Linked DNA regions of Homo sapiens: regions 2 and 3 are each linked to region 1. The links are contacts of gene promoters, found by promoter capture Hi-C in blood cells and fetal thymus (Javierre and others, 2016). All regions are on one chromosome and are shown on one strand. Each heading gives the region's core, a stretch centred on a gene start or on the middle of the fragment in contact. The rest is flanking DNA. Distances are from core to core; before and after follow the strand shown.

Region 1 (4,837 bases), core at 1,356-3,855:
AGGGAAGCCCAGACCTGCAGCTCCACCTCCAGCTCACCTATGTGCCCACAGGAAGGCCATAACAAGCCACTTTACCTCACCAGCTCTGTGTGCCCATCTAGGAGGTGGCAAGAAAGAAAATCTTCTGACAGTTTCTCAGGAACTTGGGGGAGAAAAACTTGTTTGCAAAAACCTACCTACTTAGAAGGCATTTTTATTCCTATACTACTTTGAATAAAATCATATATGATCTATGTATGTCTTTATGTATCAATCAAGAGATCCTAGTTCAACATTCAGTTTGTAAAATTAGTAAGTGCCATGTTCTGGAAGGGAGGGTTCCTGATTTTGCAAGGTTGCCGGTCCTGGGAGGAGAAGCAGGAAAGCGGGGGATGGATAATGGTCCAGGAAGGTCCAAGGAGGGTCCAGGAGAAACGCTGGGCAAATCTCTAGGCCTCAGTTTACTTCAGGGCCCCTCGGGGGTGCAGATGCCCTCCGAGGCCTTTCTGCCCCAACGCTGGGTGGCTACCCTAACCCACCGAGGCATCCCACAACACTCAGGAATTGCAGCTGATAAAGAGGGGCTGGGGGCACTGCTAGGGCGCCCAGAGGCAAGGTTAGCCCCTTTGCTCAGCCTCACTGACCGGCTTGTCACATCCCTCTGCGGGGCATCCCGGAGCCACACTTCATTCCCGAGAACTCGGTACAATTAACTTAACCAACGTGAACAAGGCGAAGGCGCCCAGCTGTCACAGCGGCTCCGCGCACGCAGGCAGACGAAGAAGGGCCCCCGCCCCCAGGAGCTGGTCCCAGCCTCCAGCCTGGCAGCCTCCTTCGAAGACTTCCCTACACTGGGCGCGGACCTCCAGCCGCCAGCAGCCGGCAACCCAGCCCCAGCCTTCCTCCTCTATACCCGCCGTCCCAGCCGCGCCGGCCGGCCCCGGGCGCAGGGCGGGCGGGAACGTGGGCACCCGGACAGCGACGGGGAGGTCAAGCAGCTGTGCCCAGGACCCGGGCGGCTCCGAAGCCTCAACACGCACACACTCGCGCGCACGCCGGCCCATCGGTTGCCTGGAGGAGTCGGGAAGGTGCTTCCACGGCTCTTCATTCATTTTCCCAAAGGCAAGGTTCCCTTCGCCCCGGCGCCTCTATCCTGCCATCCCAGGGGGCCAATTGCGCCACAGCCCGCCACCCAGCCACCCACAGCCACCGCGTCCTATCTCCCGGCACACACAACCCAACAGACTCGCATTACATCTCCACCGCCAGCGTCGCCTCCGCGCCCCGGCCGCTGCCATCCGGCTCCCCAGCTTCGCCGCCCCGCAGCCCCGGCTCCCCGCCTCTGGCCTCACCGCGCGGCTCAGAGCTGCCTCGCTCGGCTCGCCGCACCAAGGCCGGCCAGAGACGCCGCCACCGCCGGGAAGCGCCGGCAACTCCCGAGTCACGCCGCCTCCCGAGACGCGGCGGGGCGCAGGGAGGGGACAGCAGTGGGGGCGGGGCGGGGAGGAGGAAGGAGGAGGGGGCGGGGAGCAAAAGTTCACACCGCTCGGGGCTCAGCCGCTCCCCTATCTCTTCCCAGGCCCGCCCCCGCCATCCCCCTTCCCTGAACCGGGTCCCACGGGCTTAGGCGCGGGAGAGCTCTGGCCTCCCCGCCCGGAACCGCCGCAAGGCTAGAGCCAGGGTTCTGGAAGCGCATCCGAGCTCGCAACCGGGGAGAGAGTGGCGGATGCCCACTTACCTGCCCCGGGCCGCGCCTGGAAACTTCCCCAAAGTGCGATAGGGGTGTGGGGGCGGAGCGCAAGGCTGGGGGGAATCCCCGTCCCCTACCGCCAAACGACGCGCGCTCACACCGTGAAAGCACTGGTCTGTCCGTCGGTCGGTCCCCCGCCTGCGGCTCCCAGAGCTGGGCGGTGCAGGGGCGCCCCGATTCCGACTACTGGGCTCCTTCTCCCGGACAGCCCGCCGGTGCGTTCCACGCGGCTTGCGCCCCCCGCCGGCCTCCGGCTATCCACGGCGCCACCACGCCACTGCTCGGTCCCCTGTCCCCTCGCTCCGGCCGCGTCCTCTCTGCGAGGGAGGGGGCGTGTGTCGCCGCTGGGTAACCCTTCCCGCGGGGTCCTCAAGCGCGCAGGGCGCCCGGAGCGCGGCCAGGACCAATGGCGAAGGGACTCCTCCCGCTGGGGATCGCTGAAGCCTCGGGGAGGCCGGGCCAAGGAGCCCGGGGCCCAAACCTGCCTCGGCTCGTCGAGCTCGCAAGTTCATTGTCTGCCTGGGCCGCCGCCGCCACCGCCACCGCCACCACCGCGCCGGGAGCGCCGCGGGGAGTGAGGCTGCGCGCCGCCTCCGCCGGCCCGGACTCCCTACGCCCAGCCCCGGCCGCCGCCGGCGCTGCCTGGCCCGAACCCGCGGAGGGGCGCCGGAGCCCCGAGCCCAGGGCCAGACCTCCTACCGCCGCTCCTCGCCGACCCCACCTCGGCGTCTGGCACCTAACTTGTACCTGAGAAGCCTGAGTCCAGCCCGGGAGCCTCTGCGGCTCCGGCTCCGCGGGAGCGCGCCCAGCCCCGAGCCTCTAGCCCCGCATCCAGGGCGCGTCAACCTGACTCCCCGAGCGCTGGGAGGAAAAGTTTGGGAGTGACGTGCAGACGGCGAATGAAACATCCGAGGAGAACCCTCCCCCCGCCCCATGTCGCGCTGACACACATCAGCTCCAGTCTGGAATGTGAGATCAAGGCGTGTGCGCCGAGCGGTGGGTTTGGCCCCTGCCCCCTCCCCCTCCGAGTCAACACTGCTTGTGTGTTGCGGTGATTCCAAATAAAAGCACATCGAAACCCCTGAAATCTGGCAGTGACACCTTGCCAGATACTTCTTTTTTTTAAAGACAGAGTTTCGCTCTTGTTGCCCAGGCTGGAATGCAATGGCGCGATCTCGGCTCACTGCAACTTCCGCCTCCCGGGTTCAAGAGAGTCTCCTGCCTCAGCCTCCCGGGTTCAAGAGAGTCTCCTGCCTCAGCCTCCCGAGTAGCCGGGATTACAGGCATGCGCCACCACGCAAAATAGGCTAATTTTATATTTTTAGTACAGACGGGGTTTCTCCATGTTGGTCAGGCTGGTCTCGAACTCCCGACCTCAGATGATCCGTCCGCCCCCCCAACCCAAAGTGCTGGGATTACAGGCGTAAGCCACCGCGCCCGGCCGCCAGAGACATCTTTAAGGAACTTGGCGGTCTGGAGCCAGCCCGTACATTAATATTCAAGGCCACAGCGCTGGTGAGTTCGGCGCCCTCTGTTGTATTTTTGCATCCCGGGAAGGCTGGCCCGGCTCTTTGGCCCGGCGTGTTTTGCTTCCGCGGGGGAGGTAAAGCTCTGCAGGACCCCGATCGCCACGGCCTGCCGCAGTGGCCTGGAGTCGGCTGCCCCAGGGAACCACCTGGACAGCCCGAGGGCAAGAAAGCGGCACCAGTGGCCGACTCCACTGACTCTGGGCTGAAGATGCCATCAGTTAAAGAAAAGACACATGAAATTCTGGCAGATTCGCTCAGAGGGCGCTTGGAGCACCAAGCCCAGCCTCTCAGGAAACTGAGGTCCAAGGGACAAAAAGAATCTGCAGTCTCTTGCCGGCCTGTGTCCCCGTGGCCAGAGTCCAGCACCCTCTTCCTCGAAGCAACCAGAAGTGGAAATGAAAGTGCTCCGTTAACTGTAGACTACATGCCACCGAAGGGTCATTCCTGACAGTGGCTTCTCCCCATTATCTCTTTATTGCCGGAGGCTTCATCTCGCCCCCCTGAAGCTACAGTCCACCCTGAGGTCATAAACTTCTGCTCAGCACCCATGGCAACTAATGCAGAGGTCACCATCAGAGGATTATAACTGCAGATGGGAAACCGGGATGAGAGGGGAGTTCTTTAAAATCCTGTCTTGTTTTCCTGCAAATAATGCCTCTTACATAAAATCTGCGAAGAAAGATGAATGCAGCAAAGAGACTTGCCTTAGAATCTCAGACTAGATTGCTTTTTCCATATAGACTCCACTTAGTGATTTTTGTTCTTTATTTTTTTTTTAAACAAAAACCTATTTCTGAAAATACAACGAGCTGCTTTTTGCAGGGTTCACAATTCCCAATAGATGATGATGCCATTTTTCAAGGTCTCACACACGTTGTGGCTTTGGGGCTTATTTATTAGCTCCCAAGAAAAGCCTGCCTTTCAGTGAGGTTTATATACTCGAGTAATTGCATCAGGGGACACAGAGCAGGTTGCTGTTAAAGAGGGTTGGTTGTACATGCGTCTGCAAGGAAGGCCCTGGGCCAGGCAGCTGTCAGACCAGTGTGCAACGGGTTTAAACAAACACAGGGAAGGGTCTGTGGAAACAGCAAGGAGGAAATCCCCTTCTGTAAGGGTGTGTGGAACATTATTCCAGGGCCACACATACTGCCAGGGAATAATGCCTTTCCTCTCCTCCCTCCAAGTAAACACATAACTCCGTTATGGAGATGGCGCTGGGCCCACCCAGATCACTTTCAAATTCAGGTGTCAGAAACCACGGTTGACATGGAGCAAAATTGTTTTTAAGTAAAAATCACGGTGCCGCTTTGATATGAATTCCACCAGGGACTTTCCAAAGGTATTTATACACGTGCCTGAGATTAACTAGAAGGTGATTTTTTTCCTTTCAACCTTAATTTCAAAAAATTACCCAAGAATTGCACTTGAGCCTGTTACTGCAGAGAATTGAAAGAACACCCAAATGCCAGGTCCCTGTGGATGGGTGGAAGGATAGACAAATAAATGTGTAACTGCAAGAGAGGTTGATACCAACATGGTATTAGCAAGTCACGGCTGAAAAAAATGCAGATACCGGCCA
Region 2 (4,837 bases), core at 1,743-4,242, 240 kb after region 1:
TTAGAGATCATTTCTGGTCTGTGGTGCAAGAACCTAGAGACCTACAATTTCATGGAGTAGAAGAGGCAGAGGTTGGTGTTCAGGAAAGTCAGAGTAACTGGGATTCATGAGGAGAGTACTCAAAAGAAGGGAGCATTAGAGAGAAACAAAGTAGGAATTTGTATAGGGGTCCCCTTGAGTCTTGGACTGAATACCAATCTAGGCATGAATAGAGTGATACTCACACAAGGCCAACAAGAACAGCTTCCAGGGAAAGGGCCATTACTGGAGAACTGTGAGATGAACAATTTCAAAAGCTCACACAGGTCCAGGAATTGATCATACTCACTGCAGACAGAGTGCAGGGACTCATTCAACACACAGAGTCTCTGGACTCTGTCTGCAGGGAGCTTGATCTGCAGAGTGCATTCGGAAGAGAATGCAGAAGGGTTGGGCCTTCGAAGCAGAGGCTAAATTAGCCTTAGGATAAAGGATATTTGATAACCACCTACAAATCCTAAAAACAAACCCCAAAGAATCAAATTTAACTTAACAAGTAACTTAACCACCCTTCCGAAAAAGTTCAACCCTGGTTAAAAAAATACACCAGAATCCAGCACTCAGTATAAAATTGCAAAGTCCTTTCTCCAACAAAAAATTATTACATATACAAAGAAGCAGGAAAATGTGCTCCTGGGTCAAAAGAAATATCATGTGATGGAAACAGACCCATGAAATAATGGAAGAAATAATGGAAGATGGAGCAGAAAGAGACATTAAATCATTTATTAGAAAGGTATCAAATCAATAACTTAAACCTCCATTTTATGAAGTAGAAAAAAATGACAAAATAAACTCAATGCAAGCAGAAGGCAAAAATCATAGAGACAGCAGAAATCAGTGAAACTGTAAGCATAAAAGCAAGAAAGAAAGATCAGTGAAACCAAAAGTTGTTCTTTGAAAATATCAATAAAATTGATAAACCTCTAGCAAGACTGATAAATTAAAAAAGAGAAAAGACACAAATTACCCATATCAGGAATGAAAGAAGGGATATCGTTGCAAACCCTGCAGGCATTAAAAGGATAATATAAAGGAATGCTCTGAACAACTCTATGCACATAAAATTGACAATGATGAAATGTAACAATTCCTAAGAAAAGGAACTACTAAAACTCATCTGAGATGAAATCATAATCTGAATAGTCCTGTAACTACTAAGGAAATTGAATGTATAATTTTTAAAAAACCTTCCAAAAAAGAAATTTCCAAGCATAAAGGGTTTCACTGGTGAGTTCTAGAAAATATTTAAAAAATAACCCCAATTCTACACAATCACTTCCAAGAGATAAAAGCAGAGAGAACATTTCCCAACTCCTTTTATGCTGCCAGCATTACTCTGCAATCAAAACCAGACAATACAAGAAAACTACAAACCGAAATCCCTCATAAAGAGAGATGCAAAAGTTCTCAAGAAAACATTATCACATCAAATCTAGCAATATAAAAAGAATTATATGTCATAAGTAAAAGTACAGTTTATCCTGGGAATGAAAGCCTGCTTCAATATTTGGAAATAAATCAGTGCAATCCACCACATTAATGGTTTAAACAAGAAAAATTACATGATCATATCTATTATGGGGCTGAATTATTTACCCCAAAAAAATCACATGTTTAAGTCTCAACCCCCAGCACCTCAGGATGTGAATGTATTCAGAAACAGGGTCTTTAAAGAGGTAACTAAGTTAAATGACATCATTATGGTGGGCCCTATTCTAATATGACTGTTGTCCTGCTGGAAAGTATATTTATCCATTCTCATGCTGCTAATAAAGACATACCCAAGACTGGCTCATTTATAAAGGAAAGAGGTTTAATTGACTCACAGTTCTTCATGGCTGGGGAGGCCTCAGGAAATTCACAACCATGGCAGAAGGGGAGGCAAACACGTCCTTCTTCACATGGCGGCAAGAGAGAAGAATGATAGACAAGTGAAGGGGGAAACCCCTTATAAAACCACCATATCTCATGAGAAAACTTACTGTCATGAGAATAGAATGGAGCAAACCACCCCTATGATTTGATTACCTCCCACCGGATCCCTCTCACCACAAGTGGGGATTATGAGGACTACAATTCAAGACGAGATTTGGGTGGGGACACAGCCAAGCCATATCAAAAGGAAGAAGAAATTTGGACTGTCTTAGTTCAGGCCAGTATAACAAATAACCGCAGACTGGGTAACTTAAATGACAAACATTCATAGCTCAGTTCTGAAGACTGGAAGTCAGAGATCAGGGTGCCAGAACTCATGGTTGGGTTCTGGTGAGGGCCCTATTCCAGGCTGCAGACAGCTGACCTCTCCCTGTAACCTCACATGGTGGAAAGAGGGCAAGTTAGCTTTGGCCTCTTTTTTTTTTTTTTTTTTTTTTTTCTCAGAGACAAGGTTCCACTCTGTCACCCAGACTGGAAGGCAGGGGTATGATCATAGCTCACTGCAGCCTCGACCTGTCAGGCTCAAGCCATCCTCCCACCTCAGCCTTCCAAGTAGCTGGGCCCACAGGCATGCACCACGCCCCCAGCTAATTTTTTTTTTTAGAGACGGGATCTTGCTATGTTGCCCAGGCTGGTCTTGAACTCCTGAGCTCAAGACATCCTCCCACCTTGGTCTCCAAAAGTGCTGGGATTACAGACATGAGCCACCACACCCAGCCTTGGCCTCTTCTTATAAGGACGCTAATCTCATTCATGAGGTCTCCAAAGGCCCAACCTCCTAACACCATCACTTTGGAGGTTAGGATTTTAACATAGAAATTTTGGAGGACGCAAACACAGACCATAGCAAACACAGATACACGAAGAGGAAAGACCACGTGGAGATACAGGGAGAGCATGGCCATCTGCAAACTGAGGAGCCAGGCTTCAGAGGAAACAGCCCTGTTGAGCTTGATCTCAGACTTCTAGGCTTCAGGATTGTGAGAAAATAAGTTTCTGTTGTTTAAGTCATCTAATCTGTAGTACTTTGTTATGGCAGCCCTAGCAAGTTCATACAATAACTATTAGTGCAGAAAAAGCATTTGACAAAATTCAAATCCATTTATGATGTCTTAGAAAAAAACTCTTAGCAAACTAGAAATAGAAGGAAACTCCTTAACTCAATGAAGGGCAAATACAAAAAAACTATTCCTAACATCCTACTTAATCGTTAAATACCGAATGCTTCCTCCCAAATAAATAGCAAGACAAAGGTGTCCACTCTCACCACTCCAATCCAACATCATCCAGGAAGTCCTAGCCAGTGCAATAAGGAAAGAAAAATAATTCGAAGGCATACATATTGGAAAGGAAGAAACGAAACTGCCCATTTAGAGATGACATAATTATCTACATAGAAAATCCCAAGTAATCTAAAAATAAAGTCTGATAAAACTAGTGATTTTAGCAAGGTTGAAAGAGAAAAGATCAACACCACAAAAATCAATCACATATGCATGTGTATACCAGTATTGAACAATTATAAACCAAAATTTGAAAAACCAATACATTTTACTAAATCTCCAAAAAAAAAATACTAAGCATAAATAAAACAAAACATGTAGAGAATCTGCATGCTGGAAACCACAAAAGCTGATGGAACAAATCCAAGAAGCCAACCTCATGTTGAAATTTGATCCTCAATGTTGGAGGTGAGGCCTAATGGGAGGTGACTGGGTCATGGGGACAGATCCCTCACGAATAGATTAATGACATCCCTGCGGGAATGGGGGGTACACAAGAGTGGGGATAAGTAAGTTCTCACTCTATTAGTTACCAAGAGAGCTGGCACCTCCCTATAAATCAAGAGGTATACCATGGTCATGAATGGGAAGACTCACAAAAGTAAGAAGACAATTCTCAGATAGACATGTAGATTTAACACAATTCTAATCAAAAATCCCACAAGGATCTTTATCTTCTTTTTCTTTTTTGTGAGGCAGAGTCTCGCTCTGTCGCCCAGGCTGGAGTGCAGGGGTGCGATCTCGGCTCACTGCAACCTCTGCCTCCCGGATTCAAGCGATTCTCCTGCCTCAGCCTCCCAAGTAGCTGGGACTACAGGCGTGTGCCACCATGCCTGGCTAAGTTTTGGTATTTTTAGTAGAGACGAGGTTTCACCACATTAGCCAGGATGGTCTCAATCTCCTGACCTCTTGATCCACCTGCCTTGGCCTCCCAAAGTGCTGAGATTACAGGCGTGAGCCACCGTGCCGGGCCGAGGATCTTTATATATATAAGCAAGCTGATTCCAAAATTTTAATAGAAAGGTAAAGAAACTAGAATACCCAAAGCAATTTTGAAAAGGAAAATAAAGTTGGGAAAATCACACTACCTGATTTTTTAACTTACTAAAAACTACATTAATCAGCCAGGCACAGTGGCTCACGACTGTAATCTCAGCACTTTGGGGAGGCAGGTGGATCACCTGAGGTCAGGAGTTTGAGACCAGCCTGGCTAACATGCATATGAGATTGATTTTTGTGTTGATCTTTTCTCTTTCAACCTTGCTAAAATCACTAGTTTGATCAGACTCTCTCTACTAAAAAGACAAAAAATTAGCCAGACATGGTGGTGGGCACCTGTAATCCCAGCTACTCGGGAGGCTGAGGCAGGAGAATCACTTGAACCCGGGAGGCGGAGGTTGCAGTGAGCTGAGGTCATACCACTGCACTCCAGCCTGGGCGACAGAGCGAGACTCTGTCTCAAAAAAATAAAAATAAAAACTGCATTAATCAAGACAGTGTGGTATTGTGAAGGGATGGATACATGGATCAACGGAACATAATAGAGCACCTAGACATAGACCCACACAAATATGGCC
Region 3 (4,837 bases), core at 1,500-3,999, 210 kb after region 1:
ACCAGTGGTTCCCATTCTTAGCTACACATTGGAATCACCGAGGGAACTTTAACACATACTGATGACTGGATGCCACCCCCAGACAATTCTGGTTTAGTGGACTGCATACAGCCTAAGCATGAGAAATTAAACTCTAAGAACCGCTGGTATTGGCCGGGTGTGGTGGCTCACGCCTGTAATCTCAGCACTTTGGGAGGCCGAAGCAGGCAGATCACTTGAGGTCGGGAGTTTGAGACCAGCCTGGCCAACATGGTGAAACCCCGTCTCTACTAAAAATACAAAAATTAGCCAGGCGTCATGGCTACGCCTGTAATCCCAGCTACTCGGGAGGCTGAGGCATGAGAATCTGGGAGGCGGAGGTTGCAGTGAGCAGAGATCATGCCACTGCCCTTCACCTGGGTAACAAAGCAAGACTCTGTCTCAAAAACAAAAACGACAATGACAACAACAAAAAAAAAAGAAAACAGCTGGTATAGAGCAATGGTTCACAGAGCCCAGCACAGAAAACCACCTGGGGATGTTTCAAAGCACCCCTTTTCCCCAGAGCCCCACTTCAAACTTATTAAATCAGAGTCTGCAGGCGTGAGGCCAAGACAATGGCATGGCCACTTTATGAAGTCTACCCAGATGATCCTAACATGCACACGGTGGGAGAAACGCAGGGGTAGAGTCAAGCTCTCATATTTTTATATGATATTATGGAGCATGACTCAAAGCCTCCATCTAATTTCTGGTTTAGGAAAGATCATCTTTATCCCAGAAGTGAACAAGGTCACAAATCTGTTGGGTTTTTATAGAATACATATCGCAAGCCACTTTCCAATTCTAAAACTAATAAATGAATGCAAAAGATGAATAATTTAAATATCAATTTCATGCACATCGTAGATGCTCAAAAAATATTCATTGACTCAATTAATCATCCAATCGATCAATATAATCCTAGTTCTACAGCTACCCAAAATACTTCTGCATCTCCCCCAGTAAACTATGAGTTCCTTGAGGGCAGGTATGGGGACCCCAGCCCCCATGCAAAGGACATTTGATGAATAAAAAAATGCCTTGATGTGCAAAGCAAATGACCCTGAAGGCTCATGGCTATCTCTGTATTTTCTAGGTGTGCAGTGGTTTTCTAGTTGAACAGAAAAATGCTAGTACGTAACGAATGAATCCATCCATTGTTGGAAGGATGATGATGTTACGATTATAGAAAAAATCCTTATTAGTCAGCTTGTCCAGGTTATTGTGCTTTTTTTTGGAGGCTTTTCAACTGAACATTAACCCAGAGGCTCATGGCCAGCTCCCAGCCACACATGGACCGGCATGTCACAGCTCCCAGCCACACATGGACTGGCATGTCACAGCTCCCAGCCACACATGGACCGGCATGTCAGGTGCCCAGTGCTGCTCTGTGCACTGCCACCCAAGAGGCATGCCTCAGCCTTGCCTGAGCAGCCCTCACAGGGCACATGGCCTCTGCCCAGTGACCAGTGGAGGGTGGAAGGTGGAACCATGGCCTATGCATCACCCCTGTCTCGTGATCTCAGCTGCTTTGGCCTCTTGGTTGCAAGAGCTACAGCTCAGTGATAAAGAACAAGGGCTCTGGGGTCAGACAGGCTAGGGGTCTAGAGCCTGGTCCACCACTAGCTGTGTGACTAGGGCAAATCACTGCACCTCTCTGAGCCCCAATGAAGATGATGTCAACAACAGTACCTTCCCTGAAAGTCATTATGAGATGAAAATTAAATGATGCCTGTGGAGTCTGAATGCCAGGCCTGGCACAGAAAAAGGGCTCAGGATGTGGCAGGTGATGGCGCAGAGATCGAGCCGCAGGACCCTGGGCTGCGACTTAGTGACTGTGCCACTCAGAGCAAGTCACTTACGTTGTTAAGCCGGGTTTTTGCATCTGTGGAACAGAACCAATAACAGAGCCCATCATAAGATCACTGATGAGCCAGTGCTGAGAAGGACCAATCACGGTGTTCGCCATAGCTGTTATTATCACCTTTGCAGGATCAGGGTTGATAATGGCTGCCATTTATTATTAATATAATCCCCAGAAACTGACTCTTCTCCCAGCAGGGGTGCGGTCATGGTTCATGTGCTGACAACATTCTAGAGACTTGGAAACAGTTTTCTTCCCACCAGCACCAGCCCTGCCAGAACCTGCTGCAACTGTTTTTGTAATCAATGGAAACGTGCACAGTCCAAGGGAGGTGGGGCAGAGAGGAAGCAGGCACATCCCAGGCTTGCATCTGCCCAGGCAGAACCAAGGCACCAGCCTCCTGCCACCCACCAAGGCCAGAGGGAGGAACAAATTCAGGTCCCCTTGCGGGATGACGGCCCCCTCCCCACATAGCCTGAACCAACTCAGCAACTGATTTCTCAGCAATGGATTTCTAGGTGAGCAATGGATTAAGACTTTTCTGGTCTTAAAGCTTGAAATTCACCTCATTTCCCCAATCCCCAAAGGGGAGCAAGTCCGTGTGCAGCCTTCCAAAACCAATGAGTCTGCTTCTAGAACCATCCCAGTCGCCACCTCTGCTGCTTCCTCCTCCTCTTCCCAGGCCCCTGAAGCAATCCGTGGGCCCAGGGTACTTGAGCCAAAGAACAAGGTGCTAGGCCAGGGTGACACAGGCTGGGCCAGCTGTGGAGGACACAAGACTCCTTCCCCAGTGCACACACAAGTCCTGGTCCAGATGAGAGAAAGGAAGACAGAACATTCCTCTGGCAAAAGGTGACATAGTGGCATTCACGACCAACCCCTTGGCACTCAGGTGATGCTGCCCTTGAACAAATGTCTGAGAGCAGCCTTCTCCCAGTACAGACACGATCAGCTCTCATCCCGGGTCAGGACTGTGGATGCGTAGCTCTCCAGCAAATCACAAACTTCCTAACGTAGCCAGCTGGTCAGTCTTGGCCAAGCCCAAATTCCCCCTCCCCCCAGGCAGCCGTGTGGCATTCTGAAAGGAGTGAAACTGACCCAATAGGCCCACAGACAGTTGTTGTTGTTGTTGTTGTTTAATAAACATAGAAATTGAAATTGACTTTTCTGGGCTTAAAGCTTGAAACTCACCAGATCCAGACAATGAAACACCAGGCCCCTCGTTCATCATGATTCCCTACTTAGCCCTCCTGAGTTCCTGTTTTCCCATACGTAGTTACATTTCTTCCCTGCTATATAAACCCCTTATTTTAGTCAGTTAGGGAGATGGATTTGAGACTGATCTCCCAACTCCTCAGCCGCAGCACCCGATTAAAGCCTTCTTCCTTGGCAACAATCATTGTCTCTGTGATTGGCTTTCTGTGTGGTGAGCAGCAGAACCTAGACTGAACCCCTGGTGTTTCAGTAACAGACCTTGTCTGAAGACCTGGGTGCCACCTGGGTGAGCCCTGGCTGGCTGAGTCTTCAGACAGTGTTGAACCTCTCTCTGCCTGAGATGAAGATAAAAGTAACCGATGCTGCTTACTGACCTCACTGGGTACTACAAGGTGCTGTGAGACAAAAATACGGACGTGCTCTGCAAACTCAAGTCCTCGTCAGGATTAGTGACCATTCAGAGCCCTTCCTCTGGTCCTAGGGGAGCCCCTGGCAGAGGACGGTAAACTTGAATCCCCTGGGGCCCTCAGGAGCAGGAACTCAGAGCAGCCCTCTGAAAATCTGAAATTTCTGCAGCATCTCTTGTTTGATCTTCAAAGCTCATACAGACTTTATGTTTCACTCATAATACATCGGTCTGTTTTATTACTAAGAGGACATTGTAAAATTAGCTACCATCACCGATGCACCTGGTCAGTGATGCCCCAGCAAGTTGTGACAGGCACACTCGGTGGCTGTCCCAGACACCAGCTCTCACTGCAGTTTGAGTGGCATAGTGGCTGTGGAGACCCTCACAGTTCTTTCCAGGAAGAGCTCAAATGGCCAACGTGAGCCCCATTATTATAGGTCCTGGCTGGTCTCTGTGTAGCCAAGATCATGCAGTAAACCCTTGCCTAAGTTTGGGCTCCCCCAGAAGCAGAGCCTCAGACAAGGACTTGGTGCAGGTGATTTGGGGTGAGGGGAAAGTGAGCCCAGGAAGCAGGAGGGAGTGAGTGAAAGAGTAAGAAAAGGAAAGAGAAAAAGCCAATAATACCCAAAGGCTTCATTGAAGCTGCCGCTGTGGGTCACTGGGACCTGGTTCCTCTGGAAGGGATGCACAGAACGCCCCGAGATTGCCCCACCCCATCCAATGCGAGTCAGAGCCAGCTCCCGCGGTCAGTGCTGGCAGATTCCAGGGGGTTGGGCTCACCCACGCTCCCAGGCTGGACTGGCACGTGGCTAAGTGGGCTCCCTGGGGCCCTGGAGCACAAAGTGAAAAGATGCCCTGTGCTCGTGGAGTGGGGATATTGTCAGGATGCAAAGGTCTGGGCACAAATGGAACCTTCCAGTCAGAGCTAGCTTCAGTCACATTGGTCCAGGCCTGGCTGCTCCTATAACCATCAACCCTCTGGGAGGCCTAGAGCTCAAGTCCTTCCTCATAGCAGAGTTAACCTTGGGCTGAAACAGAAGCACGCTTTAACTGTGGGAGGGAAGCTTTCTAAGTCATATTACCCACTCAGCCTTGATCCAGCACCTCCATGGATGGTGCTTCCTTGATAACTCAGGCTCATCATGGATAGAGCCACGGCCCAGAGATGAGAGGTGCACCCCGGAACCCACCAAGGCCAGGGCTGTTGGACCCACACTAGGGATCCCCCCAAATGTCCTGTTTCTGCATTTTGTAGCTGTTCTGACACCTGTGGTATCCTGCTGGTGACATATGAGCTTTCTAGAAAATAATCTGAGACCATATCTCAA

The links. Contacts are between HindIII fragments. The CHiCAGO score rates a contact against its expected background, and 5 or more counts as called.
Region 2: a fragment that was not itself captured here is called in contact with the fragment with the promoter of CHST15 in region 1 in 2 of 17 cell types (monocytes and neutrophils); the score reaches 6.1 in monocytes.
Region 3: a contact is called between a fragment that was not itself captured here and the fragment with the promoter of CHST15 in region 1, in 2 of 17 cell types (neutrophils and M0 macrophages). The highest score is 7.6, in neutrophils.

What each region holds. Positions count from the first base shown.
Region 1 is chr10:124,090,993-124,095,829 of GRCh38, forward strand. It overlaps CHST15 (carbohydrate sulfotransferase 15), which reads right to left and starts at 2,606. Exons shown (of 8, transcript NM_001270764.2): 1 at 2,477-2,606. The HindIII fragment of the contact is 12,111 bases long and covers 1-4,837 here.
Region 2 is chr10:124,332,752-124,337,588 of GRCh38, forward strand. No RefSeq gene overlaps it. Among named protein-coding and RNA genes, the nearest start is that of OAT, 84 kb to the right of the region's middle. The HindIII fragment of the contact is 8,214 bases long and covers 1-4,837 here.
Region 3 is chr10:124,297,671-124,302,507 of GRCh38, forward strand. No RefSeq gene overlaps it. Among named protein-coding and RNA genes, the nearest start is that of OAT, 120 kb to the right of the region's middle. The HindIII fragment of the contact is 626 bases long and covers 2,437-3,062 here.